Regions from separate parts of the Homo sapiens genome. Here all the other regions are linked to region 1. Evidence: promoter capture Hi-C in human tissues and cell types (Jung and others, 2019). All regions are on one chromosome and are shown on one strand. The core of a region is centred on a gene start or on the middle of the fragment in contact, and the rest is flanking DNA. Distances in the headings are between cores, read along the strand shown.

Region 1 (6,028 bases), core at 1,305-3,804:
ATAGTTTTCTTTAAATCAACAGAGTAATAAATTTTGTGATGCTGTCAGCCCACATGCACATAGGCACAGGTAGTTTATTCTTTACATAGAAAAGATCCCTACATAAGAAAAACTTAAAGACAGTACGTTCCTCCACTTGCTGTATGAGGATGCCCTACTCTGAAACAGAGAAGCTTTTTCTTTCTTTTTCCTTTTCTATTTATTTATTTATTTATTTATTTATTTATTTATTTATTTAAATAGAGACAGGGTCTCGCTGTGTTGGCCAGGTTGGTCTTGACCTCTTTCCTGTTTGTTTTGGTTTTTGAGATGGGGTCTCACTCTGTTACCCACACTGGAGTGCAGTGGTACATCCTCGGCTGGGCTGCAACCTCTGCCTCTGGGGTTCAAGTGATTCTCTCACATCAGCCTCCTGAACACCTGGGACTACAGGTGCAGGCCACCACACCCGGCTAATTTTTGCTAGTTTTGGAAGAGATGGGGTTTCACTATGTTGCCCAGGCTGGTCTCGAACTCCTGACCTCAAGTTATCCTCCCACCTTGGCCTCCCAAAGTGCTTGGATTACAGGCCTAAGCCATCATGCTGGCCCAGAGTAGCTTTCAATAAACTCTCTTCTCACTGCACTTTGTGACTCGTCTTGAATTCCTTCCTGTGTGAGATTCAAGAACTCTCCTGGGGTCTGATCAGGACCTCTTTTCCTGGTAATACAAGCAAGAACTTAACTTCCAGTTTTGGAGTACTGAGTCTATTTCCCTAGAGTCTGTGTTTTTCCCAAATGGGCCACTGCTATCCTTCCGCTTGAATAAACTCTTCCAACTGAAATCTTGACCTTTCTATTATTTCGGAGTGACAAGTCCAAATAAGGCAACTGCATCTCTGCAACCAATCAAGCATTTATCTGGTTTGTCTCCTCACGTAACTTATAAAAGCTTACCCCTAAACTGGTAAACTAAAAATAAAAACATACCTCTGGCCCGGCGAGATGGCTCACATCTGTAATCCCAGCACTTTGGGAGGCTGAGGTGGGTGGATCACTTGAGGTCAGGAGTTCGAGACCAGCCTGGCCAACATGGTGAAACCCCATCTCTACTAAAAATACAAAAATTAGGAGGGCATAGTGGTGCATGCCTGCAATCCCAGCTACTCAGGAGGCTGAGGCAGGAGAATCACTTGAACCCGGAAGGTGGAGGTTGCAGTGAGCCGAGATCAGGCCATTGCACTCCAGTCTGGGCGACAGGAGACTCCGTCTCAAATAAAAACAAAGTACCTTTCCAGCTAAGTGAAGTGACCGGCTCTTGGCCAACAGGACCCGCAAAAAACCCTGAAAATTGAGTGCCTCTGTATGACAGGATGGGAGGTGAGACAGGTCTCCTTATACCCTCTCCCACACATTCATGTAAAAATAGATAGAATGGAAAAACAGACTGCTTGTGGCAAGAAGATACTAACTTACAAACAAAACCTAAGGCCACGCAAGGCAAAAGTAAAGTCACGCCTCAGAATTCATAAAATCTAGAGAAACAGGTCTGTTTTCTGGCTGGGATGGAATCAAGTGGCAGATAACAGACCCCCTTCCTTCCTACCTCCTCCAAACTTTAGACAAACTTCACACTCTCAACCAGCTGCCACCTACAGAATCCCTCAACCACCTGTGCCTTCTAACCCCCCTTCCACAGGTCCCACCCTTTCTGCCAATGGAACTTACACCTTTCAGGCACTGATTCATCATTTTCCCTGCAATTCCTGTCTCTCTGAAATGAATAAAACCAAACTGTCTTGAGCCGCCTCGGGACCACTTACTCCAGGCTGCTTGGGGTTGTGTTTCCCTCGGCCAAGGTCTCTCCTATTCGGCTCTGAATAAACTTCTTTATTTTACATAGTTTGGCTTTTTCCGTTGACAAACCACAACCCAGGACGGGGTGTTTCTCATTCGTGAATCGCTGTTTGCTCAAATGAACTCTTTAATTGTTAACGTACCTCAGTTTAATTTTTAACAGGAGAAAGTGGGGACTGGGGGCCCCACAGACCACTGCTCCTCCCACGCACGAACCCCACACCCGAGTCAGGATGCCTCCATGACCCTCCCGTTGCTTCCGCACAATCTGGGGAGACGCGGGGCTGCGGGAGCGGAACTGCCCAGAGAGGGCTCCGGGGCAGGGGCCGCGGCCGCAGTCGCCGCGCAGGGACGGGACAGGACGCCCGGGTCCTGGCTGCTGGCCCAGCCCCGTCCAGCGGCCAAGGGGACCGAGGGCCGAACTGCTCAAGGAGGACTCGGTCCCAGACCCCGGAGTCGCCCACAGGGAGGCCCGGGTCCCGCCACAGCCGGTTCCCGCCTGTTCCAGGCAGCCCCTCCCCCGTCTCACGACATCTGGTCCCGCACACGCACCATTTCCCGGCTTTCAGATGTACCGGGGTCCTCTCTACAGCTCCTGTGACTACAGCAGGGCATAGCGCAGGCGACAGAGCGACAGAAGCCTGGGTACAGGCACCAGGTCCCTCTCGGGCTGGTCTGACCGGTTACCAACCGCCGCCCGCGCAGCGAGGAAGGTGAGGAAAGCGACCCCCTCCATTTCCGGATGAACTGTGGGCAGTGCCACGCCCCAGCACCTCTGATTGGATGAAATACTAGGTCCCGCCCCCCACATCTGAGTGACAGCTGAAGCCCTGGGTATCAGGCCCCGCAGAGCCAGACTGACGGATTCTAGCCACAGCTTCTCTAAGGGCGAGCTGCTTTCTGCACTCTGGTTATTGGATATTTGCATTTCAGCCAAACTTGCTATTGATAGAAGAGAACACTAGCGTCATCCTCACTCAAGGGACAGTCCCCGCTCCTTCGTTCTGCACGGGGTCACAGGAGTGTGCAGGGAATTTCAGACTCAGTGTCCATAGGAGCCAACTGCTGGCCTCAGAGCAGCAGGGGAACCGAGACCAGGCCAGGCACGACTGCACCAGGAGGAGAGGCATATGTCCTCGAGCGGGCCGGAATTGGGGATGAGGCGTGGCCAAGCCTTGCTCACACACCCCCATCCCCTTGTGAAAATGCTTCCTCCTTTCAGATCTTCATTTTCACCAGCAGGAAACTCTCACCAGGTTTTGTTTCTGACCTAAGTAAACTGTCAACTTCATGAACCCTTTATCCAGGTGACGCCACCAAACAATTCTGTCTCTAGCTCTAGCCTGATCTTCACACATTTTCTTTTCTTTCTTTCTTTTTTTTTTTTTTTTTTTGAGACGGAGTCTTGCTCTGTAGCCCAGGCTGGAGTGCAGTGGTGCGATCTCGACTCACTGCAAGCTCCGCCTCCCGAGTTCACGCCATTCTCTTACCTCGGCCTCCGGAGTAGCTGGGATTAAAGGCGCCCGCCACCACGCCCGGCTAATATTTTGTATTTTCAGTGGAGACGGGGTTTCACCGTGTTAGCCAGGATGGTCTCGATCTTCTGACCTCTTGATCCGCCCGCCTCGGCCCCGCAAAGTGCTGGGATTACAGGCGTGAGCCACCGCGCCCGGCCACACATTTTCTTTATCTATACAAATAACTCTGACCCCAACGACCCCATGCATGTCAAACCCCAAACCCTGCCCAGAAGACAGCTCCAGAGGTACAACACCAGAAAGGACAGAGACGCCACAAATGCGTCTGCACATGGGTCTTCTGCTTTCCAGGGCTCTGCAGCTTCTCGGAATCCACACCCTTTCTGGAGCTGCTCTGAGCAGCTGGAGGCCACTTGTAGAAGGGGGTGGGCTGCCCGCGAAGCCCCCAGGGAAACTCTCTTTCCCTCCCTTTGCAGGCTGCAGAGACTGTCCTCAACGTGGAATCACTGGCCTTGGGCTCTGCTGCCCCCTGCAGGTTATTCAGCTACTTCTCACCCCATCGATTAGTTTCGCGAGACAAACACCTTCAATCCCATTGTGTAAATAAGACACCAGCAGAGTCCCTGCTCTCCTCCTATGCTTATGTATAAAGTGGGGGAGGAAAAATCTAAGATAACTTAAGGGCATTTGAAAGACTTCCAGATCGCGGTGGAGGTGGCAGCTGAGGGACTCGCAGTCAATGACACTGCAGCACCTCCAGGCCAGGCTGGTGGGAGAGAGGGTGGAGAGCTGGAGATGGATGTGGATAGGTGGAGGGAGCTGCCCTGGGAACTGGGCTCTGCAGCAGTGCGGCTCTAGGGCCCGGAGCCCGGGAGAGCAGAGATGGGGGCTCCCAGGACAGGAAACTCAGGGAGGAGAGAGTCGGGTGGCTTCCATGGGACGGGGTGCTGTTGCAGCTTGTGTGAGCCAGTAGCTATCATAACTAAGCCCAATCGGGACGTGAAAACTTGGATTCCGTGGGAATTTATGAAGAGGAAGGCTCTGATGACAAAGAAGTCATCGATGAGGAGGGGGATGAGGGTCACTGGCAAGCTTGCTTCCTTATGGAAAGAAAAGTGAACACCCAACTACTGCTGCAAAATGGGATCAAAGGATGAGACTCTCGCTGTCAGGGAATAAACTGCTGCAGAACTCTTAGAGATTGCAAAGACCTTTCAACAACAGCCTGGGAGGCCAGGTGCCATGGCTCATGCCTGCAATCCCAACATTTTGGGAGGCCAAAGTGGCAGGATCACTTGAAGCCCGAAGTTGAAGACCACCCTGAGCAGTGAAGTGAGACACTCCCATCTCCATAAATCTATTTTTTAATTAGCCAGGAGAGGTGGTGTGTACCTGTAATCACAGCTACTCAGGAGGCTGAGGCAGGAGGATCACTTGAGCCCCAAAGTTTGAGGCTGCTGTGAGCTGTGATCAGGTTACTGAACTTCAGCAAGACACTGTCTCAAAAAAAAAAAAAATCAAAAACAAAAAAACCCATAAAAAGCCCACCAGACTCCCCGGGGAAACCCTGACCCCCTTGGATGGTCTAATTGTAAAACACAGCAGGTGGTATTTCCTTATGGACTGGATCATTCTGGCCACATAAGAGGCTTGGCCTACTGAGGATTTACCAGGCGGATGACCTCCTTGCAGTCAATGGAAAAGGCCCCTGGTGAAACCATCCCTTTAAACTTTATCAAATTCATCAGGGAGGATGGGAGGAGAAAACTTAAACCAAGCTGCAGAACCTTCAGCATTAATCATTAAGTCAGCTTGTTCCCTGAACTTCCTCATATTTGCTTCATACCTAGTGTCCTAGAATCCCATTGTTGTGGTAAACTGAGGAAGGAGAGACCAATATGGAGTACAGGAGGATTTGTTTATATTTTAGGTACGCACTGGCTCAGACGATTCATATCCAAAAAGCTGAGGACTGAACGAAGACAAAGTGGGGTTTTTATACGCTGTCTTACAGATGCCAAACAAAAGCAGTTAATCATACAGTGACAGGTCATGTAATCTATAGCATAACATAATTTATGACCTTGCATAGCCAGTGTCCTTGTAGCTGCATTGAAAGAAAAACAAGAACTGGCTAAATACAGACATTTGTAAAACATAATAATGCTTAAGAAGACTTGCAAAAGAGTAACAGTAAAAGAATCTGTCTCTTTTTTTTTTTTCCTTCAACATTGCTCTGGAAGGGAGGGGTGTCTGGAGCCCATTCCTTTGGCCTTGGCTATTTGGACATCGTTATCTTCTTGATAAGGTCCTGGAAGTGAGCTGCTAGGCAGAGGAAAACTTGTGCTTTTCTTTTTTCTTTTTAACCCTTGCCTTGCCACACTCTGGGCCTTAGCTTTTACTTTTCTTGGAGTAAATAAATTCAGTACTTATTATTTTTAAATTTCTGCCTCACGATGGACCCTAAATGATAGTTCCTGTTAACTGCTCTATAGATAATAACTTGAACGTTAGATGTTTTCCCTTTGAAATATTTCCATTTCAGGGCCGGGCGCAGTGGCTCATGCCTGTAATCCCAGCACTTTGGGAGGTCGAGGCAGGTGGATCACCTGAGGTCAGGAGTTCAAGACTAGCCTGGCCAAGATGGTGAAACCCTGTCTCTACTAAAAATACAAAAATTAGCTGGGCGTAGTGGCAGGTGCCTGTAATCCCAGC
Region 2 (6,028 bases), core at 16-2,515, 840 kb before region 1:
ATTAGTGGGGAGTTTCTTAGGCATGTGCCACCATGCCTGGCTGATTTTTTATATTTTTAGTAGAGACGGGGTTTCACTATGTTGGCCAGGCTGGTCTCGGACTCCTGACCCCAGATGATCCACCCGCTTTGGCCTCCCAAAGTGCTGGGATTACAGGCATGAGCCACCGCGCCTGGCCTGCTTTCTTTTCTTTTACCTGTCTGCTATTGAAGAGATTTGTATTCTAGAAAGATCCCTGGCTGCTGGATGGAGTGCTTGAGAGTAGAAGAAGCTAGCAAGGGAAGATGGTGGCTGAACCAGCTTGGGAGCTGTGGGATGGGAAGAAGTGGACAGCAGGGGCTGTTCCGGGGCATACCTGCTAAGGGTGCGGAGGGTTGTGGCTCTGACAGCTGTGGAGCCGGTGGGACCAGGGCACACAGCCCCAGGCATGAGGGGCAGGCAGAGAGGGCTCTGTGGCCATGTAGGGGCATTTCTGGCTGGCGGGGAGGTCTGTGGCTACCACTGGGACAAAAGAGAAGCCAGCCCGGAGGTCAGCCCACTGCTGCTCATCCCCGGCCCACAGGCAGAAGCTTCATGAGGCAGATCTGGAGTTGCAGAGGAAGCGGGAGTACATTGAGGAGCTGGAGCCACCCACTGACAGCAGCAGTAAGTAGGACCTAGTGACCAGAGGGTGGGGAGATCCCAGAGCCCAGCAGCGTGGAGCTGATGGGCCACCTCTTCCGCCAGCAGCCCGGCGGATCGAGGAGCTGCAGCATAACTTGCAGAAGAAGGACGCGGACTTGCGGGCCATGGAGGAGCGATACCGCCGCTACGTGGACAAGGCCCGCATGGTGAGGACGCTGGGTGTTCCCACAAGTTGCCTGCCCTGGCTTCTTACTTTTTGTGCCTCCTATTGAGTCAAACCTCCTGCTTGCACATCTGTGCCCCCAACTCATACCTGTCATACCCCACCATAAGACAGACTTCTGCATGATTCCCCACTGCTACTGATTGTCACATTAAAATACTGCACAGCTGGCTGGGTGCCGTGGCTCATGGCTGTAATCCCAGCACTTTGGGAGGTCAAGGCAGGCGGAACATGAGGTCAGGAGTTTGAGACCAGCCTGGCCAACATGGTGAAACCCCATCTCTACTAAAAATACAAAAATTAGCTGGGCATGGTGGTGGGTGCCTGTAATCCCAGCTACTCAGGAGGCTGAGGCAGGAAAATCATTTGAACCCGGGAGGCGGAGGTTGCAGTTAGCTGAGATTGTGCCACTGCGCTCCAGCCTAGGCGACAGGGCAAGAGTCCATCTCAAAAAAAAAAAAAAAAAAAAAAAAAATTACGCACAGCCAGGCGCAGTGGCTCACGCCGCTAATCCCAGCACTTTGGGAGGCTGAAGCAGCTGATCCCTTGAGGTCAGGAGTTCGAGAGCAGCCTGGCCAACATGGCGAAACCCCGTCTCTACGAAAAATAGAAAAATTAGGCGGGATTGGTAACATGCGCCTGTAATCCCAGCTACTCGGGAGGCTGAGGCAGGAGAATCACTTGAACCCGGGAGGCAAAAGTTGCAGTGAGCTGAGAGTGCGCCACTTCACTCCAGGCTGGGCAACAGAGCCAGACTCCATCACAAAAATAAAAATAAAAATAAAGTAAAAATAAAGTACTGGCTGGATGGGCACAATGGCTCATGCTTGTAACCTCAACACTTTGGGAGGCTAAGGCAGGAGAATTGCTTGATGCCAGGAGTTCAAGACCATCCTGGGCAACATAGGGGGACTCTGTCTCTATAATGAATGAAAGAATGAATGAATACACACACCCCAGTATGTCCCAGGGGGTTTCAAGGCCAAAGTCACCTGGCTATGACTTCCTCAACCTGTAGGTCATGCAGACCATGGAACCCAAGCAGCGGCCAGCTGCGGGGGCACCTCCAGAACTCCATTCCCTGAGGACACAGCTCCGAGAACGGGATGTCCGCATCCGACACCTGGAGGTGGGTGTCCTCGTCCCTTTACGCTGCCTCCAACGTATCTAGGCCCCTGACACTTGCCTCCTTGACAGATGGACTTTGAGAAAAGCCGAAGTCAGCGGGAGCAGGAAGAAAAGCTGCTCATCAGTGCCTGGTATAATATGGTAAGTGTGGGGTCTGGGCTCTAAGATCTCATGGGTAGAATATTGGTGGGGGGGTCCTGTGAGCTCACCTGACCCCAACCACACCTCCTCCTGAAGGGCATGGCCTTGCAGCAGCGAGCTGGGGAGGAGCGGGCGCCTGCCCATGCCCAGTCATTCCTGGCACAGCAGCGGCTGGCAACCAATTCTCGCCGTGGACCCTTGGGACGCCTGGCATCTCTGAACCTTCGCCCCACTGACAAGCACTGACAGACCTCACAATCAAGCCAGCCTGGGCTCCACCCACCCTGGCTTCCTCCAGCTCACATGGCGCCCAGCACTGGGCTTCAGCCAGGTGCTCGAGAGCTTTGAGGCCATGATCTCTGCTCTTCCCTCTCCCAGATTGGTGGGGAGGGAGGGCGGGAGGTAGATATAGGCCTGTTCTTTTTAGCAATGTGATTCTTGTTGTTGATTCTCTCTCTGGAGTTCATGTGCTGCCTCAGGAGACTCTGATTTTATATTTGAGAAAAATAAAGGCGTTCAATCTGCCCTGGCTGTGCTCTGGGCACCAAGGTGAGGGAGAGAAAGTGGGCCAGAGGCTTAGCCCATTGCTTTTAAGAAAAGCTTAGCGGCCAGGTACGGTGGCTCACGCCTGTAACCCCAGCACTTTGGGAGGCTGAGGCGGGTGGATCACCTGAGGTCAGGAGTTTGAGACCAGCCTGGCCAACATGGCAAAACCCCTCCTCTACTAAAAATACAAAAATTAGCAGGGCATGGTGGTACATGCCTGTAATCCCAGCTACTCGGGAGGCTGAGGTGGGAGAATCGCTTGAACCTGGGAAACAGAGGTTGTAGTGAGCTGAGATCATGCCATTGCACTCCAGCCTGGACAACAGAGCAAGACTCCATCTCAAAAAGAAAAAGAAAGAAAAGCTTGGCTTGCATTCTTACTAAAATGTGAGTGACCAATAGCACCAACCAGAGGTAGGTGAGGATCACGTTTGTGTGTCTGTGAATGTGTGGTGGTTTTGTTTTTTGGTTGTTGTTGCTTTTTTTTTTTTTTTTTTTTGAGATGGAGTCTCACTCTGTCGCCCAGGCTGGAGTGCAGTGGCACGATCTTGGCTCACTGCAGCCTCTGCCTCCTGGGTTCAAGGGATTTTCCTGCTTCAGCCTCCTGAGTAGCTGGGACCACCTGCGCATGCCACCACGACTGGCTAATTTTTGCATTGTTAGTAGAGACGGGGTTTCACCATGTTGGCCAGGGTGTTCTTGAACTCCTGACCTCAGATGATCCGCCCACCTCAGCCTCCTAAAGTGCTGGGGTTACAGGAGTGAGCCACCACGCCTGGCCACTAAGCTTTTCTTAAAAGCAGTGGGCTAAACCCTGGCCCACTTTATCTCCCTCACCTTGGTGCCCAGAGTTACCAGAGTGAGCCACCACTGTGGAACAATCATAGCTTGCTGCAGCCTGGGCAACAAGAGTGAGACCCCATCGAAAAAAAAAAAGAATAAAAAGGCCCAGAAAGGAGGCCTCACCAAGGAAGTGACATTATTGAAGCAGATACCTGAAGGAGGTGAGGGAGAGGCCATGTAAGTACCTGGGGAAGATCCAGGCAGAACAGTTTGCACAAAGGCCCTGAGATGACACCTCGCTTGGTGTGCTGGAGGGACAGTAAGGGGACCAGAGTGGCTGGAGTGGAGTGAATAAGAAAGCAGAAGGCCGGGCGTGGTGGCTCACGCTCATGCCTGTAATCCCAGCACTTTAGGAGGCTGAGGCTGGCGGATCACAAGGTCAGGAGATTGAGACCATCCTGGCTAACATGGTGAAACCCTGTCTCTACTAAAAATACAAAAAAATTAGCCGGGCGTGGTGGCAGGTGCCTGTAGTCCCAGCTACTCGGGAGGCTGAGGCAGGAGAATGAACCCGGGAGGCGGAGGTTGCAGCGAGCCGAGATTGTGTCACTGCACTCCAGCCTGGGCGATAGAGCAAGACTCCATCTCAAAAAATAAAAGGAAAGCAGAAGGCCGGGTGCAGTGGCTCACGCCTGTAATCACAGCAGTTTGGGAGGCAGAGGCAGGCAGATCACGAGGTCAGGAGATCGAGACCATCCTGGCTAACACGGTGAAACCCGTCACTACTAAAAATACAAAAAAATGCGGCCGGGCACAGTGGCTCACGCCTGTAATCACAGCACTTTGGGAGGCTGAGACGGGCGGATCACGTGAGGTCAGAAGTTTGAGACCAGCCTGACCAACATGGAGAAACGCCGTCTCTACTAAAAAAAAAATACAAAATTAGCCGGATGTGGTGGCATACGCCTGTAATCCCAGTCACTCTGGAGGCTGAGGCACAAGAATCGCATGAATCTGGGAGGCGGAGGTTGTGGTGAGCTGAGATCATGCCATTGCACTCCAGCCTGGGCAACAAGAGCAAAACTCCGTCTCAAAAAAATAATAATAATAAATAAAAATAAAAATACAAAAAAATTAGCCAGGCGTGGTGGCGGGTGCCTGTGGTCCCAGCTACTCGGGAGGCTGAGGCAGGAGAATGGCGTGAACCCGGGAGGCGGAGCTTGCTTGCAGTGAGCCGAGATGGCTCCACTGGCACTCCAGCCTGGGCGATACAGCGAGACTCTGTCTCAAAAAAAAAGAAAAAGAAAAAGAAAGCAGATGAGGGTGGGGAGATTATTCAGGGACTTGTGGGCTGCAGAGAATACTTTAACTTTTATTCTAAGTGCTGTGGGAGCCACGGAAGAGTCTAAGCAAAGGAGGGATGTGACCTGGCTCGGGTGTTCATAGGCGCCCTCTGGTGGCCACTCTGGGAGAAACAGGCTTAGGAGGCCAGGGCCAGAGCTTGAAGACCTGGTTGGTAGTCCAGGTGGGTGGGTGGGTGATAGTGAGGGCTCTGGCCAGGCTGGGGTCCTGGAGGAGTGAGAAATGGTTGGATTCTAGATACGATTTAAAGGCAAAGCTGGCAGGGCACGGTGGCTCACGCCTGTGATCCCAGCACTTTGGCTGGCCAACATGGTGAAACCCTGTCTCTACTAAAAATACAAAAATTAGCTGGGTGTAGTGGGCGCCTGTAATCCAAGCTACCTGGGAGGCTGAGGCAGGAGAATCACTTGAACCCGGGAGGCGAAGGTTGCAGTGAGCCAAGATCATGCCATTGCAATCCAGCCTGGTGACAAGAGTTAAATTCCGTCTCAAAAATAAAATAAAAATAAAGGCAAATCTCGGCCGGGCGCGGTGGCTCACGCCTGTAATCCCAGCACTTTGGGAGGCTGAGGCGGGCGGATCACCTGAGGTCAGGAGTTCGAGACCAGCCCCAACATGGAGAAACCCCGTCTCTACTAAAAATACAAAATTAGCCGGGCGTAGTGGTGCATGCCTGTAATCTCAGCTACTCGGGAGGCTGAGGCAGGAGAATTGCTTGAACCTGGGAGGTGGAGGTTGCAGTGAGCCGAGATCGCGCCATTGCGCTCCAGCCTGGGCAACAAGAGCGAAACTCCGTCTCAAAAACAAATAAATAAATAAAATAAAAATAAAGGCAAAGCTGATAAGATTTGCTGCTGGGTTGGTGTGGCCACTGGGTTGATGTGATGGCCTGTGGCGGGAATAGGAATCCACATGACTTCTTTTGGCCTTATCACCTGGAAGGACAAAGCTAACACACAGGGTGGGGCAGATTGGGGGGCTGATTAGGAGCTGGATTTCAAGTGTGTTATGTTTGAAGTGTCTGTGACATCTCTGCAAGGAGGCATCCAAGAGGCAGTTGGCTTTCTGGGTCTACAGTTAGAGAAGGGATCCTGGCTGGATTTCTTTTTCTTCCTTTTTCTTTTTCAGATGGGGTCTCACTCTGTTGCCACCCAGGCTTGAGTGCAGTGGCACAATCTCACTGCAACCTCCATCTCTCAGGTTCAAGCGATTCTCCTGCTT
Region 3 (6,028 bases), core at 2,886-5,385, 800 kb before region 1:
AAATGATGAGCATCTGCTATGTGAAGTCAGCTACCTAAACAGACAAAAACCCTGCCCTGCCAAGAATGGTGGCTCACATCTGTAATCCCAGTGACTGGGGAGGCCGAGACACAGGTGGATCACTTGAGCCCAGGAGTTCGAGACCAGCCTGGACAACACAGCAAGACCTTTCTTGCTACAAAAAATAAAAGTTGGCTGGGCGTGGTGGCTCACGCCTGTAATCTCACCACTTTGGGAGGCTGAGGCAGAAGGATCACTTGAGGCCAGGAGTTCGAGACCAGCCTGGCCAATGTGGTGCAACCCTGTCTCTACTAAAAATACAAAAAATTAGCCGGGCGTGGTGGCGCGCACCTGTAATACCAGCTATTCGGGAGGCTGAGGCAGGAGAATGTCCTGAATCTGAGAAGGCAAAGGTTGCAGTGAGCCAAGATTGTGCCACTATACTTCAGCCCGGGCAACAAAGTGAGATTCCGTCTCAAAAAAAAAAAAAACAAACAGCCTAGCTGTCGTGGTGGCTCACGCCTATAATCTCAGCACTTTGGGAGGCCAAGGCGGGCAGATCACAAGGTCAGGAGTTCAAGACCAGCCTGACCAACATGGTGAAACCCTATCTACTAAAAATACAAAAATTAGCTGGGGGTGGTGGCCCACGCCTGTAATCCCAGCTACTTGGGAGGCTGAGGCAGGAGAATCGCTTGAACTGGGGAGGCAGAGGTTGCAGTGACTACACTCCAGCCTGGGCAACAGAGTGAGACTCCATCTCAAAAAATTAAAAAAAAAAAAAAGAATAGGATACCTTTCCTCTTTCGCTTCCTGCTAACACACAATAAGGTTTTTCTGCTTTACTTTGCATGTGGGCTGAAAGGTCTCTCCCTCCTACTTTGGGGATGCTAAGCTAGCCCAGGTGTGACTTTGGCCTTGGGGGTGGAGTATGGGGGGAGGGAACACAGGAAGCTAATGGAGCCATCCCTACCTCCTCCTCCCCCAAAGCCACCAGCAGAGACTGGATCTTTAAAAAGCAACAGAAGCCTGGGAAGTAGGTCGCCCTGCAGCATCTCAGCCTCTATTCTAGTGTCAAGAGGCAGGAGAGGCTGAAAGTCCAGGCACATCCCTTTACAGTACTTACCTGCTCTGACCTGAGAAAAGTCTGAAGAGGGAGGAGAATCATATCCAGGTTTTGGTGAGTCACACAGCCCTGGCTTCTGACTATTCTAGTGCCTGTTGACTGTGTGATCTTGGGTAAGTCACTTAGCTTTTCTGTACTTCAGGTTCTTCATCTATCAAATAGGGGTAAAATAAAGAAGCATCTCTAGAGTCAAGTTCTAAAGTAAGGGCAATATTCATAGAATCTAACCCTGCCATTGTTTAAAACAGCTAGTGCTTTCCAGGGTGAAGAAGTTGGCTTGCGTTTGGGGACTGTGTTAAGTTAGTTGAAGTGCTGACCTTTGAACTCGGGGGACAGTGTGATGAGAGGCTTGGGAAGGGAGGCTGCTGTAAATTGAGAACACGTTTGTCTCACATTTCAGATTCGCGGTTGGACACCAATTCTTTTTTTTTTTTTTTTGAGACAGAGTCTCGCTCTGTCGCCTAGGCTGGAGTGCAGTGGCGCGATCTTGGCTCACTGCAAGCTGCGCCTCCTGGGTTCACGCCATTCTCCTGCCTCAGCCTTCCGAGTAGCTGGGACTACAGGCGGTCGCCACCACGCCTGGCTATTTTTTTTTGTATTTTTAGTAGAGACAGGGTTTCACCGTGTTAGCCAGGATGGTCTTGATCTCCTGACCTTGTGATCTGCCCGCCTCGGCCTCCCAAAATGCTGGGATTACAGGCATGAACGTGAGCCACCGCGCCCGGCTGGTTGGACACCAATTCTGTGAGTTTCTTTTGGCACAGAGAGCTTCTAATTGAACTAGGGTAAGTTTGCCAGGCATAGGGCTGTTGTGAGATTTGCATGAGATAACATTTGGCCTTTTTTTTTTTTTTTTTTTTTTTTGAGACAGAGTCTCGCTCTGTCGCCCAGGCTGGAGTGAAGTGGTGTGATCTTGGCTCACTGCAACCTCCGCCTCCCGTGTTCAAGCGATTCTCCTGCCTCAGCCTCCTGAGTAGCTGGGATTATAAGCGCAGGCCACCACTCCTGGCTAATTTTTTTGTATTTTTAGTAGAGACAGGGTTTCACTGTGTTAGCCAGAAGATGGTCTCAATCTCCTGACCTCGTGATCTGCCCTCGGCCTCCCAAAGTGCTGAGATTACAGGCATGAGCCACCACATCCGGTATTAATGAGATAACATTTGGAAACCACTTGACATGCAGTAGGTGCTTAAGAAATAGGAAAAAAGGCCAGGCATGGTGGCTCATGCCTGTAATACCAGCACTTGGGGAGGCCAAGGCAGGTGGATCACCTGAGGTCGGGAATTCGAGACCAGCCTGACCAACATGGAGAAACCCGGTCTCTACTAAAAATACAAAATTAGCAGGGCGTGGTAGCACATGCCTGTAATCCCAGCTACTCGCGAGGCTGAGGCAGGAGAATCACTTGAACCCGGGAGGCAGAGGTTGTGGTGAGCCGAAATTGCACCATTGCACTCCAGCCTGGGCAACAAGAGCAAAACTCCACCTCAAAATAAAAAAAAAAAAAAAAAAGGAAAAAAGGCCAGGCACGGTGGCTCACACCTGTAATCCCAGCACTTTTTGGGAGGCCAAGGCGGGCAGATCACAAGGTCAGGAGTTCAAGATCAGCCTCGCCAATATGGTGAAACCCTGTTTCTACTAAAAATACAAAAATTAGCTGGGTGTGGTGGCGGGTGCCTGTAGTCCCAGGTACTCGGGAGGCTGAGGCAGAATAGCTTGAATCCCGGAGGCGGAGGTTGCAATGAGCTGAGATCCCACCATTGCACTCCAGCCTGGGCGACAGGGCAAGACAGTGTCTCAAAAAAAAAAAAAAAAAAAAAAAAAAAAAAAAAAAAAGAAAGAAAGAAAGAAATAGGAAAACTGGGCCGGGCACAGTAATCCCAGCACTTTGGGAGGTCGAGGCAGGTGGATCACCTGAGGTCAGGAGTTCAAGACCAGCCTGGCCAACATGGCAAAACCCCATCTCTATTAAAAATGCAAAAAATTAGCCTGGCGTGGTGGCAGGCGCCTGTAATTCCAGCTACTCGGAAGGCTGAGGCAGGAGAATCGCTTGAATCCGGGGGCGGAGGTTGCAGTGAGCCGAGATTGAGCCATTGCACTTCAGCCGGGACAATGAGAGCAAGACACCATCTCAAAAAACAAAAAAACAAAAAAAGCCAGGCGCGGTGGCTCACGCCTGTAATCCCAACACTTTGGGAGGCCAAGGCAGGCAGATCATGAGGTCAAGAAATCAAGACCATCCTGGTCAACATTGTGAAACCCCATCTCTATTAAAAAAAATTAGCCGGGCGTGGTGGCGCATGCCTGTAATCCCAGCTACTCGGGAGGCTGAGGCAGGAGAATCGCTTGAACCCGGGAGGCGGAGGTTACAATGAGCTGAGATCGCGCCACTGCACTTCAGCCTTGTAACAGAGCGAGACTCCGTCTCAAAAACAAAACAAAACAAAACAAAGAAATAGAAAAACAAAAACAACAAAACAACAAAAACCCAAAACCTTGTCCTGATTCAACACTCAAATTCACCAGCTGGAGAGGAAGAAAAAATTCCGTGACCACACAAGGGCCAACAATGTGGACCACACATGCAGCAGGGGCTACTTTGTTCTGCCCCAAGGCTTGCGGAGGGCCGCTGAAAATTTGCCATATTATATGAAGGGGGTGAACCTTAACAAATTGTCTCCTGCATCCCAAACTCGCTCCCCATCTGATCTTTATCTGGGGCAGCCCCCAAATTTGACCAGAAAGCTCTTATCGTTCACACTCGCTCCAGGAACCCCCAAATCCAGCCCCAGCTCCCCAGTCTCACTCTTCTGCTCCCCATGCACCTCGGTTGGTCTAGAGACCCTCCTGCCAATTTGAGTCTCAGCCAAAACCCCAAAGCGCGGCGACCCTGGCGCATGGCAGGACGGGATTTGTAGTTCCAGGGCTTATCGGAGGGTGGGGGAGAGGGAGGCCTTTACGCATGCCTTGGTGGCGGCTTTCTGCACGTGTTTCTCAGCCCAGGTTTCAGTCCAGCGGAACTGGCTACCTCGGAATCCCAACTGCTCCTTTAGGGTGTCTTCCGCGATTCTCCGAGTGGAGTTAGGCGCCTGCCGACACTTCCCTAACCTTGGAGGCCCGGGACTTGATTTTCATGAATGAACGGAGCCGGGACTGACTTTGCCTACGGCAAGTGGGTTGAGATAGCTGTTCCCCTCCTTCAGGCAGGGGCAAAAATTGACCTCTGCCTCTCTCGAGGGTCAAAAAGTTCCTCAGGGCAGGGTGGGTTGTTCTTTGGGATTAGAGCTGGTGAATTCATTAAATATCGGCTTAGGGAGGGGCTGAATACAGTAAAAGAACAGCCTTGAGCCTTGGAGGGTAAAGCCACGTTTTTAAGGAACAATTCAGAGCTGGCCAGGTCATGCTTAACTTGGATGATCTCTAATCGCGCGAACTGCTCTTATACCCATTTGACAAGTGGGGAAACTGAGGCTTCAAGTGGCAGGAGGTCTCCCACTTTGTTATCGGCAGGGCAGGGAGGGGAAACCAAGACGCTACAGGGTCTCCAGCTTTTTACCATCTGCTCCTCTCTCAAGAGAAGGAAAAACGGTGCCCTACTGTCTTCAGACGTCGCAAGGATCAAGAAGATTTCTTTCTTCATGACCCTGCCCTTGCCAGAATTTCCTGCGCTGTTCCACCTCATTCAACTTCAGGTAGGGAAAGGGATTAGGCGTGGTTCAAAGTTTATTTTATTAGTTCATTTCGTTTTATTCAAAAATTTATATCCTTGTGGCTTTTTCATCTCCTTGTAAAAACTATCAAACAGTACTGGAAAATAATGCAAAAAGTGGCAGAGGCTTCTGTAGGAACCCGGCTTGTCTCAGGCACTTACTTTGTCCTGCTTTCTTTCCTTTGTCTCTGGGGTATAAAGAGCACGCTCAGCTCTTTCCTTGCGCACACACAGCGTACTCCTCCCAAGTACCTCTGGATGGGGGAAGGGAGGCACATTTCAATTTTTAGTGGAGGAAGGTGACAAGGAGGGTGCTGGCTCTGGCCGAGGGGTTCCTGGATCCATCACACACAAAGTCCCCACGCGCTACCAAACTCCTGGCTCCAGCTAAAGAGCTTGCGGTCAGGTCAGTGAAAGATGCTGGGAAAACGAGACACTGGGAGGACCGGCTGGCTAGAGAGGCCAAAGAAACGGCAACTCTTTGGTCACGTGACCGGACCTTGTCTCAGCCCGGGTTTCCCAAGTGCCAGGGCACGTGTGAAGGTTGAACCTTCCGATTGGCTCGGCGGGACCAGTTTGAACGGAGTACGGGAGCCGCGGCGGCTCACCTACGGCCGCGTTTTTCTTTTTTTTTTTTCTTTCTTTCTTTTTTTTTTTTTTTTTTTTTTTTAATTCTCTCTCTTTGGCTCCCTCCTTCCGCGCGAGTCTCTGGAGAAGCCGCAGCGCGAGTTGCCGCCGCTGCTGCCCGGGGCCGGGTAAGTGGGCCTCACTCAGAGCCCGACCCTCTTGGCCCCGGCTTGCGTCGACCCCCGCCGGGCACCGAGCCTGCGCCGCGCGCGGCCCGGGCGTCGGGGCCGCGCCCGACCGGGAAAGGCCGGGAAGCCGGTTGGGCCCGATCCTCCTGGCAGCTAGAACGGGCCGGGCGGGGGAGGGGGGAACCGAGCAGAGCTTAGGGGGTGGGGCCTCGGAGCCAGGCCATGTCGGGGCTCCTCAAGAAGAGGGCCAGTGGGACTGCTGGGGTCGGGCTGGAGGGGATCTGATTGGGGGAAGCGTCTGGGGACTGCTTGGGGCCTGATTGGGGGACGTCGCGAGGATCGGGTGTGTGTAGGGGCCTGTTTCGGTGGGGCTTGGTTGGGTCTGATTGGGGGAGGCCGCACTGAAAAGTTGAGCGGGGTGGGGGGAGGGGAGCTCGT
Region 4 (6,028 bases), core at 2,526-5,025, 690 kb before region 1:
TGAACCTGGGAAGCGGAGGTTGCGGTGAGCCGAGATTGTGCCATTGCACTCCAGCCTGGGCAACAAGAGCAAAACTCCGTTTCCAAAAAAAAAAAAAAAAAGTTAAACATATTCCCCAGCTTGGACCCAGACTCTCCCAGCTTGAAAAACGTAACCCCGGCCTGGCGTGGTGGCTCACACCTGTAATCTCAGCACTTTGTGAGGCCAAGGCAGGCAGATCACCTGAGGTCAGGAATTTGAGACCAGCCTGGTCAACACGGTGAAACCCCGTCTCTACTAAAAATACAAAATAAATTGGCCGGGCCTGGTGGCACACACCTGTAATCCTAGCTACTCTGGAGGCTGAGGCAGGAGAATGGCTTGAACCCAGGAGGCGGAGGTTGCAGTGAGCCGAGATCGTGCCACTGCACTCCAGCCTGGGCAACAGAGTGAGACTCGGTCTCAAAAAAAATAAAAATAAAGAAAAATGTAACCCCTAGAGTGGGTCAGTACCTGGTAATGGAGGATAGAAGCACCTGATCAGCAAGGAACTATGGGAGCTCCACACCTCCTTCTCTCCTATGGCAGCAAAGAAACATTAGCTTCCCTAGGTTTCCGTTTTCCCAAGTGAGGAAACTCTCAACCAGATTGAGATTGAGGTTCTGATGCAAATGAGCTCCCCAATTCATTAACCCTGTCTCTAGGAAACATAAGTCCTGACCTTCACAGACACTGTCAATATGCACCAATTACACCCAGTACACCTATATTACGGAAGTGAAACTCAAAACGTAATGTCTAAAAACACACCCAAGGAAACCACAATTAAAACCTCAGACATCCTCCCCTCTTCCCCTAACAGCATCTGCCTGTGCATCCTCAGCTTCCAAGTGCTCTGCAGTTTCTTTCAGTACAAGAGGATCCTTCCATGGTGGGCATATGAGTAGCTGGCAGACCTGTAGGGGAGGCTCCCCAGGAAGAACCAATTGGGCCTTCAATGATCTTTCTTTGCAGGCTCAAAGGTGGACTTAGCTTGGAATCACTTATCTCAGGCCTCTGCTCCCCAGTCACAAGGCTCTGGAACACTACTAGTAATTTTAAATGAGACAATTTAATTAAATTTTTTTTTTGTTTTGAGATGGAGTCTCACCCTGTCACCCACGCTGGAGTGCAGTGGCGCGATCTCGGCTCACTGCAAGCTCCGCCTCCCAGGTCCACGCCATTCTCCTGCCTCAGCCTCCAGAGTAGCTGGGACTACAGGCGCCCGCCTCCACGCCCAGCTAATTTTTTGTATTTTTAGTAGAGACGGGGTTTCACAATGTTAGCCAGGATGGTCTCGAGCTCCTGACCTCGTGATCCGCCCTCCTTGGCCTCCCAAAGTGCTGGGATTACAGGCATGAGCCACCGTGCCGGGCCCTTAAATTCTTAAGGATTGTTCCTTAAACATCCAGCAGAAGGCCTGGCACGATGGCTCACACCTATAATCCCAGCACTTTGGGAGGCTGAGGCGGGTGGATCACCTGCGGTCCGGAGTTCGAGACCGGACTGGCCAACATGGTGAAACCCCGCCTCTACTCAAAATACAAAAAAATTAGCCGGGCATAGTGGTGTGTGCCTGTAATCCCAGGTACTTGGGAGGCTAAGGCAGGAGAATGGCTGTCAATATGCACCAATTACACTCAGTGTACCTACCTTACAGATGTGAAACTCAAATGTAATGTCTAAAAACACACCCAAGGAAACCACAATTAAAACCTCAGACATCCTCCCCTCTTCCCCTAACAGCATCTGCCTGTGGCTCCTCAGCTTCCAAGTGCGGAGGTTGCAGTAAGCCAAAATTGTGCCACTGCACTCCAGCCTGGGCAAAAGAGCAAGACTTGGTCTTTAAAAAAAAAAAAAAAAAAAAAAATCCAGCAGAATTACTTAAACACAGTGTTTACGTATAAAGGAAGCAAAAGGCCTGGCGTGGTGGCTCATGCCTGTAATCCCAGCATTTTGGGAGGCCAAGGCGGGAGGATCATGAGGTCAGGAGATCAGGAGATTGAGACCATCCTGGGAAACATAGTGAAACACTCTCTACTAAAAAAAAAAAAAAAAAATACAAAAATTAGCTGGGCGTGGTAGCTTGTGCCTGTAATCCCAGCTACTTGGGAGGTTGAGGCAGGAGAATCGCTTGAACCCGAGAGGCAGAGGTTGCAGTGAGCTGAGATCGTGTCACTGCACTCCAGCCTGGCGAGAAAGCTAGACTCCGTCTCAAAAAAAAAAGTAAATAAATAATAAATAAATAAATAAATAAATAAATAAAGGAAGGAAGCAAGAAAATTTTAAGCCATTTAACAAGAAAACCCACTATTGCTTTCAGAAAATGAGAATGTTGGGCCGGTAATAGTAGCTCATGCCTGGAATCCTAGCACTTTGGGATGCTGAGGGTGGAGGATCGCTTGAGCCCAGGAGTTCAAGATCAGCCTGAGCAACACAGCCAGACCCCATCTGTTAAAAAAAAAAAAAAGAAAATAATAATGTCAGTTAATTATTTCCATGGCAATAAATAGTTTACAAAAGTATTACTTCTATCTGAATGCTTCTAGATGTTGCAAGTTTAAGTCCTGGAATACCATCTGAAACATCAAACTAAAAGAACAGACCTGAGAAACATATTCCATGTGCTCAGGGAAAGAACAAAGAATTTTTAACAAATGTAATATTGGGATGTTTTTTGTTTTCTGAGATTCATTTCTTTTTTGCCCTTTGGAAATATTTTGTACTGTCTCTCAAGTTCTTCTGATAACATATATTTTATATTTATTGGAAAAATGACATTCGAGTGAATAAATCTTTTCAAGGTCATAAACCCAAGGCGGGACAGTGCCAATCTGAAACTGTGCTGAAAAGATAGATTACCCAGGAAAGTTTACAAAAAGGAACCTCAACGCAAAGGAGTTCCCATAGGATGTCTGTGCCCTGGAAAGGTACCAGGATGAGGGCCACAGCATTTTATGCAGATTAGTTCCAAGTGAATAATTTTTCTGATTTTTCTCTGATGTAAAATATCCACAAACAAGAAATAAATCGTTTAAAAGAGGCATCTATTGGAAAAAAGATTATTAAAATACTGCGTGTGTTTGAAATGCACCACACAGGACAAAGAGTTGGTGACGATGTTTTCCACTGGCGAGCGGAAGTAGGCGTTTGGGAATTCGGGGAGGGATCCGGAAATCTAGGGATTAATGGCCCGCCGTGGGAGGAGCTAGGCTGGGGGGACAGGGTAGTGGATTTGAGACTCTGCTTCCAACATCTTTGGAAGACTCAGGGGGAAACAGCCTTTGGGAAGAAAGAAGGGACTGGGAACCCCAGACTGTAGCTCCTCCCACACAAACCAAACACACAAGGCGGGATTCTCCCCAGGACCCTCCCGTGGTCCCTGCACGATCTGGGAAAGACGCGGGGCTGCGGGCGCGGAGTTGTCCAGAGAGGGCTCCGGGGCTGGGACCGCAGTCGCCGCGCAGGGACGGGACAGGACGCTTGGAGTTCCAGCTGCCAGCCCAGCCCCACACTGCGGCCGGAGGTGACCGTGGGGAGGCCCGGGTCCCGCGATCACGGCCGGTTCCAACTAGTCCGGCCCTGCACACTCACCATTTTCCGGCCTCGCGGGTGTCCCGGTGTTGTCCCTAAGGTTCACGGAGCCAGCGCAGGGTACAGCGCATCCGATGCAGGGGTACAGCAACCTGACGCGTCAAGGGGCCAGGAGACCCCAAGCTAAGCACAACCCGATCGCACAGTGACGTAGCACGCATTTGCGCAGCGTAGCCGTACCCTCCTTTCCGGCGCCGCCCCTGATTGGACAATTATACAGCCCCGCCCCTTTTTGTCCGAATGACAGCTAGGCAGCAGGTCTAGTAGCTAGGCAGATCTCGCTTCCGCCGGTGGGACGGAACTGGTGCCCTCCGTGGACAATTGTGTTGAAGCAGAAATTGTTCCGGATCTCGGGTCGGACACGGAAGTCTTCCTGCAGTGTTTCTGGATGCGGGGACAGGGATGCGCAGGAATTCCAGTCTCAGTTTCCAGATGGAGCGACCCCTCGAGGAGCAAGTCCAGAGCAAGTGGTCGTCTAGTCAAGGCCGCACAGGAACAGGAGGGTCTGATGTCCTCCAGGTACCAGGGGCTTGGCATAATGTTGTAAGGCCTCTCGTGGAATAGTGACCCTTGTTTATAAACAGACGGTTACCCCATCATGTGTAATAAAAAGTGTGGTTGCATTTTAATCTTTGACCATAACAGCGTTGAGGCGTCCACCTTTCTTTTCCCCACCTCCACACATTTGGCACTTTAGAAAAGGAACCCCAAGGCAGGGCTTGGTGGCGCACACCCGTAGTCCCAGCTACTGCGTGGTGGGGGCGGTGGGGGAGGTCGGGGGGTGGGTGGGCTGAGGCGGGTGGATCGCTTGACTCCAGGAGTTTGAGTTCAGTCTGGGCAACATGGCCAGAACCCATCCCAAGAAAAAAAAAAAAAGGAAAGAAAGAAAAAACAATCCGTAGGACACCCGAGCACTTGGCTCGGGTGGTAAATTGCAACCCTAACCTGGGCACAGGGACTCTTCAGACCAATCACGATCTATGAGACGTGCTCAGTAAACTGCGTTTTACTCTGGAAGGAAATGGTTTGTTTTCGTTGTTTTTTTGTTTGTTTGTTTTTAGTTTAAGCATGTTTTTATTGCTTTTCATTTTTATTTTTATTTTTGTAGATTTATGGTTACAAATGCACTTGTGTTACGTGGATATATTTCATAGTGGCGAAGTCTGGCTTTTAGTGCACCCATCACCCAAAGAGTGTATATTGTACCCAATAGGTAATATTTCATCCCTCATCCCCCCTCTCTGTCCAACCTATTGGCATCTCCAGTGTCTATTATTCCATTCTGTATGTCCATGTTTACCCATTGTTTAGCTCCCACTTATATGTAAGAAGATGCAGTTTTTGACTTTCTGTTTTTGCATCATCGCACTTAGGATAATGGCCTCCAGTTCCATCCGTGTTGCTGTAAAGTGGAAGGAAATTTATCTCAAATAAGTTTTCTAAAGTGTCCCTACAGAACTTGGAAAGACCAAGAGCCCAAAACCAGCCTGGGCAACATAGCGAGACCCCATTTCTCAAAAAATTTTTAAAAATTAGCTGGGTATGGTGTTCACCTGTAGTCCTAGCTCCTTCGGAGGCTGAGGCAGAAGGATCTCAAGGCTAAGAGTTTGAGGTTACAGTGAGCCAAGATTGTGCCACTGCATTCCAGCCTGGGAGAGAGAGAGACTGTCTCTAAATTTTTTTTTTAAAGTAGAAACATATTTCATTTTTCCCATTATAGAGGAGACAGTGTAATCTTGAAAACTCCCATGATCCACCCTTCTGGTAGCTCTGTGTGTACAGGTAGATGCAGGGGGAACAATGCTTCCAAGGCTGTCAAAGGTCATGTTTAGTTCTAAATTGCTGAAACTCACAAAATGCATCCTCTTGTTTCTAATTAGATGCAGAACAGTGAACACCATGGACAAAGCATCAAGACTCAAACTGTAAGTGAGATCGCTACCTGTCAGCGTGGCTACCTTCCTTGTTTATAATGACCATTTGGGTCTGTCCTTCTATGACCTCTTTGTGGGGGGGTCTTTCGGGTCTTTGTGAAGGCACTCCCATAGTCAAGGCCAATAACCAGGCTCTCAGGTATGTCCTGTTCATTGCCCTCACCCTGTACTTCCATTGTCCCTTACCTTCATTGGCCATCCCAACACAGCCACCTGCATCCTTTGGAATATCACATTTGGGCTGGGTGCAGTGGCTCATGCCTGTAATCCTGGCACTTTGGGAGACTGAGGTAGGAGGATTGCTTGAGTTCAGGAGTTTGAGACCAGTGTGGGCAATGTAGTGAGACTCTGTCTCTACAAAAAATAAAAAAAATGGCTGGGTGTAGTAGCTCATGCCTGTAATCTCAGCACTTTGGGAGGCAAGGTGGGTGGATCACTTGAGGCCAGGAGTTGGTTTCCAACCTGGCCAACATGCTGAAACC
Region 5 (6,028 bases), core at 2,179-4,678, 520 kb before region 1:
AAGACCAGCCTGGCCAACATGGCAAAACCCCGTCTCTACTAAAAATACAAAAAATTAGCCAGGTGTGGTGGTGGGCACCTGTAATCCTAGCTACTTGGGAGACTGAGGCAGGAGAATTGCTTGAACCTTGGAGGTGGAGGCTGCAGTAAGCCAAGATTGCACCACTACACTCCAGCCTAGGCAACAAGAGTGAAACTCTGTCTCAAAAAAAAAAAAAAAAAGAGAGAGAGAGAGATAGACACCAATACACTAATAGCTGGAGATTTTAACACCCCATATTCAGAACTGGACAGATCTTCCAGACAGTAAATCAACAAAGATTATTTCAATATATACTGAAAAATTGGACAAAAGAAAGATTAAATGGGATTTAATCTACACTATAGATCAAATGGACCTAATAGATATTTACAGCACATTTTATCCAACAGCTACAGAATACACATACTTTTCCTGAGCACAGGAATCATTCTCAAGGATAGACCATATGTTAGGTCAAAAAACATGTCTTAAAACGCTCCGAAAAATTGAAATAATATAAATTGTGTCACAGAATAAGTGGAATAAACTAGAAACCAATGACAAGAGGAATTCTGGAAACCATACAAACATATGGAAATTAAACAATACGCTCCTGAATGACGAGTGGGTCAATGAAGAAATTAAGAAGAAAATTGAAAAGTTTCTTCAAACAAATGATAATGAAAATGCAACATACCAAAACCTATGGAATACAGCAAAAGCAGTACTAAGAGGGAAGTTTATAGATATAAGCACCTACATCAAAAAAGAAGAAGACCTTCAGGCTGGGTGCAGTGGCTCCCATCTGTAATCCCAGCACTTTAGGAGGCCAAAGGGAGTGGATCACCTGAGGTTAGGAGTTCGAGACCAGCCTGGCCAACATGGTGAAACCCTGTATCTACTAAAAATACAAAAAATGACATGGTGGTCGGTGCCTGTAATCCCAGCTACTTGGGAGGCTGAGGCAGGAGAACTGCTTGAACCCAGAAGGCAGAGGTGGCAGTGAGCTGAGATTGCGCCATTGCACTCCAGCCTAGGCTGCAAGAGTGAAGTGAAACTCATCTCAAAAAAAAAAAAAGAAGAAGAAGAAAACCTTCAAATAAACAACCTAAGAATGCATCTTAAAGAATTAGAAAAGCAAGAGCAAACCAAACCCAAAATCAGTAGAAGAAAAGAAATAATAAAAATCAGTAGAAATAAATGAATTTGAAATGAAGAAACAATAGAAAAGAACAATGAAACAAAAAGTTGGTTTTTTGAAAAGACAAACAAAATTGACAAACCTTGAGGTAGACTAAGAAAAAACCAGGCCCAAATAAATACAATTAGAGGTGAAAAAGGAGACATTACAGTTGATACTGCAGAAATTCAAAGGATCATTAATGCAACTAAGAACAACTATATGCCAATAAACTGGAAAACCTAGAAGAAACTGATAAATTCCTAGGCAGATAGAACATAGCAACATTGAACCATGAAGAAATAAAAAACCTGAACAGACCAATAACAAATAATGAGATCAAAGCCATAATAAAAAGTCTCCTAGCAAAGAAAACCCCAGAACCCAGTGGCTCCACTGCTGAATTCTACCAACATTTAAAAAAGAACTAATACCAATCTTACTCAAACTATTCCAAAAAACAGAGGAGAAGGCAATACTTCCAAATTTATTTTACAAAGCCAATATTACTTTGACACCAAAACCAGACAAAGACATGTCAGAAAAAGAAAACTATAGGCCAGTGTCACTGATGAATATTGATGCAAAAATCCTCAACTCAATACTAGCAAACTGAATTTAACAATACACCAAAAAGATCATTCATCATGACCAAGTGGGCTTTATCCCTGGGATGCAAGGATGGTTCAATATATGCAAATCAATCAATGTGATGTATCATTTCAACAGAATAAAGGGCAAACACCATATAATCATTTCAATGTGCACTGAAAAAGCTTTTGATAATATTTAACATCCCTTCATGATAAAAACCCTAAAAAAAAGTGGGTAAAGAAGGAGCATACCTTAACATAATAAAAGCTATATATGGCAGACCCACAGCTAGCATGATAATGAATGGGGAAAAACTGAAAGCCCTTCCTGTAAGATCTGGAACACAATAAGAATGCCCACTTTTACCACTGTTGTTCAACACAGTACTTGAAGTCCCAGCTAGAGCAATAAGACAAAAAAAAAAAAAAGAAAAAAAAAGAAATAAAGGGCATCCATATTGGGAAGGAAGAAGTCAAATTATCCTTGTTTGCATATAATATGATCTTATATCTGGAAATACCTAAAGACTCCACCAAAAAAGTATTAGAACTGAGAAATAAATTCAGTAAAGTTGCAGTATACAATATCAACACACAAAAATCAATAACATTTTTATATGCCAACAGTGAACAATCTGAAGCTACTTGAGAGGCTGAGGTGGGAGGATTGCTTGAGCTTAGGAGGTAGAGGTTGCAGTGAGCCATGATGGCCCCACTGCACTCCAGCCTAGGTAACAGAGCAAGACCCCATCTCAAACAACCAAAAATGTGTAGAAGGATGGTTACCAGAGGCTGCGAAAAGTAGTAGCGAGGAGTAGTTATGGGGGAAGTGGGGATGGTTAATAGGTATAAAAAATAGTTACAAAGAATGAATAAGACCTAGTATTTGCTAGCACAACAGAGTGACTATAGTAAAAAATAATTTAATTGTACATTGAAAAATCTTGAAAAATTTCATTGAAAAAGAGCATAATTGGAGCCAGGCGCAGTTGCTCACGCCTCTAATCCCAGAACTTTGGGAGGCCAAGGTAGGCGGATCACGAGGTCACGAGTTTGAGACCAGCCTGGCCAACATGGTGAAACCCAGCCTCTACTGAAAAATACAAAAATTAGCCGGGTGGTGGCGCGTGCCTGTAATCCTAGCTACTCGGGAGGCTGAGGCAGGAGAATTGCTTGAACCCACCCAGGAGGCGAAGGTTGCAGTGAGCCTCGCACCATTGCACTCTAGCCTGGGCGACAGAGCAAGACTCCCTCTCGAGGAAAAAAAAAAAAAAAGATATAATTAGTTTGTCAGTCCGTGTCCAGGAGGAAGAAGCAGGAGGTCCTATTGAGTACGGGCAGGAAATTCCGCTTAAGTGCAAATATAACCCGGGAGGATTCAGATCAAAGAGCAGGGAGGAAGCCCCCCCTGCCAAGGGCTGTGTCAGGAACTTGCTCATCCGGCTCCACTCAGCTGTGCAAGATCGCTTCTTCTGTCAATCAGCCCTCAGGGGGCGGGACCTGACGCCCTATCCAATCAGGGGCGTGGGGCGGGTTCGTGGGAACTGTCAATCAGGCACTGCCCAGAGAAGTGTGTGTGGTTGAAAAAGCCCGCGGCGTCTGCTCCACCCACCTGCGCTCGGCTCTGGGTTCTGTAGCTGAGAGACGACCTGGAAGTTCTGAGGCAGCCTTTGTCTGGCTGGAACACGCATTGGCAGCGGGAGCTGTCGGTAGGACCTGGGACACCGCGGAAGTCGGGAAATGGTGCGTGTGCTGGGCCGGCGTCCCGAGGCGGGGGAGGGGTTAGGTGGAACCGGCCGTAATCGGCTGTGGCTGGACCCGGGCCTCCCCAAGGGCGACTTCGGGATCTACGGACCCGGGTCCCCCTGGCGTAGGTCGGCCCTCGGCCGCAGGGTGGGGCTGGGCATGCAGCCGGGACCCCGGGCGTCCTGTCCCGTTCCTGCGCGGCGACTGCGGCCCCGGCGCCCTCTCTGGGCAGCTCCGAGCCCGCAGCCCCGGGTCTCCCCAGATTGTGCGGCTGTAACCAACACAGGTTCGCGGCCCGACTCACTGCACCGAGACGCCGAGGGCTGCAGCAGAAACGGTTTAACAGGAGGAGAGGGGAGGACACCCCAGATCCGCCTCCCTGAGGGATTTGGGGTCTGGACGGGGGCGGCTGGGTGTAGCGTCCTTGGTTGGTGGGGAAGTGAGGGGTGAATCCTGGGACAGGAGGTGAAGAAACCGCATTCTGCTGAGAGGGCTCCCTCGTGGGGTCTTCAACCTGGTTGGCGCCAGCCTTTCTGCTGGGATTCAGGATCTGAGAACTCCGGCGACTCTTGAGCAGCACTCGGAGATCTTATCCCCAGGCACAATGGGGAAGCCGGCGGTCAGCGTCTGCTGTGACCTGACTCTCAGGGAGGCGGCCCCTTGAGGCAGCGGGGCTGAGGGCACCTGTTTAATATCTAACTGCAATCTCGCCTCCAGCCTGGCTCGCAGTTCCTGTGAACCCGGTGAGGAGGCTGCACGGTGACGACGAGTCACCAGGTGGAATCCAGACTCGTGTGTGGGGTTTGTGTGTGGGAGGAGCTGTGGTTTCCGTGGTCCTCAGTCCTTTCTTCCTTTCCAAGGGCGACCGTTTCCCCTCTGAGTCTTCCAAAGACGTGGGCAGCAGGGTCTCAAATCCACCACTGTGTTCTCTCATCCTGACTCTTCCTAGGGCTGGCAGCAAATCTCTTGGTTTCCAGAGACTTCCCCAGGCTAACCTTCTGTCCTTAATTCACAGCAACAGTATGAACTGTTTGGCCCCAGGCGATATTTCACTAGTTTGTCATCTTGTTTTCAGCTAGCAATGTATGGCTTTTTCTTGAAAGAATTGTTTTGGGTTCCTGAACACGGTGGGTCATTCCTGTAATTCCAGCACCTTGGGAGGCTAAGGCAGAGGTATTGCTTGATCCCAGTAGTTCCAGACCAGCCTGGGCAACATGGCAAGACTTTGTCTCTAGTGTAAATGATAATAATAAAATTAGCTGGGCTTGGTAGCTGGCACCTGTAGTCGCAGCTACTCCTGAGGCTGAGGTGGGATGATGGCTGGAGCCCAGGAGTTTGAAGTTGCAGTGAGCTATGATCGTGCCTCTGCATCCCAGCCTAGGCAACAGAGGCCGACCCTGTCTCAAAAAAAATGGATGTCCACAGCTGCCAAGTCTCTTGGAGGGTCTAGTGAATATCATCCCCTGGGTCACTCCTCCCAGGGGACAGCCTGAGATGGAAGGTGTGGCCCCCTGGGGAGCAACTGGATCCACTGGGATGGGAGGAATCTTCTGGTATATAATTCCTGTAAAAAGCTAACTCCTGGGACACTCACCTTTTCTTCCCAACCCTAGTTTCCATTCCTTGGAGACACATGACTGAACAGCCAATTTCATGGTCATATTCCATAGGAAAAAAAACGGAAATGATTTTTGCCTTCTGGACTCTCTCAGACTTAAAAGGTAGAAAGTTATATCTAAGGACTGGAGAACCTGCCCTTTGAGGTAGTGCAAGATCCTGAAAAGCACACAAGGCAGTGTCTCCTAGGAGGGTGGTGAGTGTCTCCTAGGAGGGTGGCGAACAGAATAGGGTTAAGGGATGTCCCAGGTGATAGGATGACCTGCACTGATTGTTGCATTAGACTTTTCTGTGTTCCAGTCAGCACTGCTGATTCCTGAGTTTGTTAGCTTGAAAAGATATGTTTACTCTTTTCAGCCTAAATTTTTGATTAACCGTGAAATACATCCTATGATTAGAGATTGTTATTTTATACTTTGAAGACAAAGTATACCCAAAGTTGGAAAGAGTCGGACTTCAGAAAATAAATTTTATAAGTAATACTAGAAAGAGTTGGACTTCAGAATATAAATGGTATATGTAATCTTCTATTCCATTTTTTAAAAGCCTTTATTTATTTTTTTTGCCCCAGAGCTTGTGTAGTACGTTTCTCAGGTGTGTTTGTTTTTCGGATGATTTCAGATGGAATTTCAGGACTTAGTAGTATAACTACTACCAAGGGAAAAACCCTCTTCCATTATGGCTGCAAAAAAGGAATACATTTTTACAAGAAAGTGTAATAGGTACATTGAATTAAAAAGATTTAACAAAAGTTCAGTTCTTCTCCTTTTTAAAAGGGTGGAGATTTTGGGACAATGGAGAAATCTGTTCTGTTCCTGTTATATCTGACAGATGAATGCTAAATTCTGTGGGACAGGACTTTCCAACAGCT

Evidence for each region. Contacts are between HindIII fragments. The study calls those that stand out against the background at their distance.
Region 2: a fragment that was not itself captured here is called in contact with the fragment with the promoter of ZNF700 in region 1 in 1 of the 25 tissues and cell types used here (heart left ventricle).
Region 3: a contact is called between the fragment with the promoter of TNPO2 here and the fragment with the promoter of ZNF700 in region 1, in 1 of the 25 tissues and cell types used here (spleen).
Region 4: the fragment with the promoter of ZNF791 here is called in contact with the fragment with the promoter of ZNF700 in region 1 in 3 of the 25 tissues and cell types used here (IMR-90 fibroblasts, lymphoblastoid cells and mesenchymal stem cells).
Region 5: a contact is called between the fragment with the promoter of ZNF443 here and the fragment with the promoter of ZNF700 in region 1, in 1 of the 25 tissues and cell types used here (dorsolateral prefrontal cortex).

What each region holds. Positions count from the first base shown.
Region 1 is chr19:11,921,633-11,927,660 of GRCh38, reverse strand. It overlaps ZNF700 (zinc finger protein 700), which reads right to left and starts at 2,554. Exons shown (of 4, transcript NM_144566.3): 1 at 2,388-2,554. The coding sequence starts at 2,450. It also overlaps a transcript of ZNF69 not described here. RefSeq lists a silencer at 2,092-2,291 and enhancers at 2,682-2,791, 2,842-2,891, 2,339-2,911, 3,068-3,857, 3,858-4,648. The HindIII fragment of the contact is 4,963 bases long and covers 553-5,515 here.
Region 2 is chr19:12,759,616-12,765,643 of GRCh38, reverse strand. It overlaps HOOK2 (hook microtubule tethering protein 2), which reads left to right. Exons shown (of 23, transcript NM_013312.3): 19 at 563-645; 20 at 727-830; 21 at 1,866-1,976; 22 at 2,045-2,116; 23 at 2,213-2,641. The coding sequence ends at 2,362. Among named protein-coding and RNA genes, the nearest start is that of BEST2, 11 kb to the right of the region's middle. RefSeq lists an enhancer at 1-115. The HindIII fragment of the contact is 3,945 bases long and covers 1-3,237 here.
Region 3 is chr19:12,722,039-12,728,066 of GRCh38, reverse strand. TNPO2 (transportin 2) reads left to right here and starts at 4,135. Exons shown (of 26, transcript NM_001382241.1): 1 at 4,135-4,298; 2 at 4,702-4,818. RefSeq lists enhancers at 3,748-4,364, 4,365-4,983, 5,036-5,185, 4,984-5,601, 5,602-6,028 and a silencer at 5,686-5,775. The HindIII fragment of the contact is 34,827 bases long and covers 1-6,028 here.
Region 4 is chr19:12,608,667-12,614,694 of GRCh38, reverse strand. ZNF791 (zinc finger protein 791) reads right to left here and starts at 3,775. Exons shown (of 4, transcript NM_153358.3): 1 at 3,613-3,775. The coding sequence starts at 3,615. It overlaps ZNF490 (zinc finger protein 490), which reads left to right and starts at 3,882. Exons shown (of 5, transcript NM_020714.3): 1 at 3,882-4,131; 2 at 5,493-5,537. The coding sequence starts at 4,015. RefSeq lists silencers at 729-888, 3,804-3,863 and enhancers at 864-1,364, 1,809-1,878, 3,604-3,663, 3,994-4,213. The HindIII fragment of the contact is 50,335 bases long and covers 1-6,028 here.
Region 5 is chr19:12,438,421-12,444,448 of GRCh38, reverse strand. ZNF443 (zinc finger protein 443) reads left to right here and starts at 3,428. Exons shown (of 4, transcript NM_005815.5): 1 at 3,428-3,537. The coding sequence starts at 3,535. RefSeq lists an enhancer at 2,980-3,249 and a silencer at 3,660-3,749. The HindIII fragment of the contact is 16,773 bases long and covers 1-6,028 here.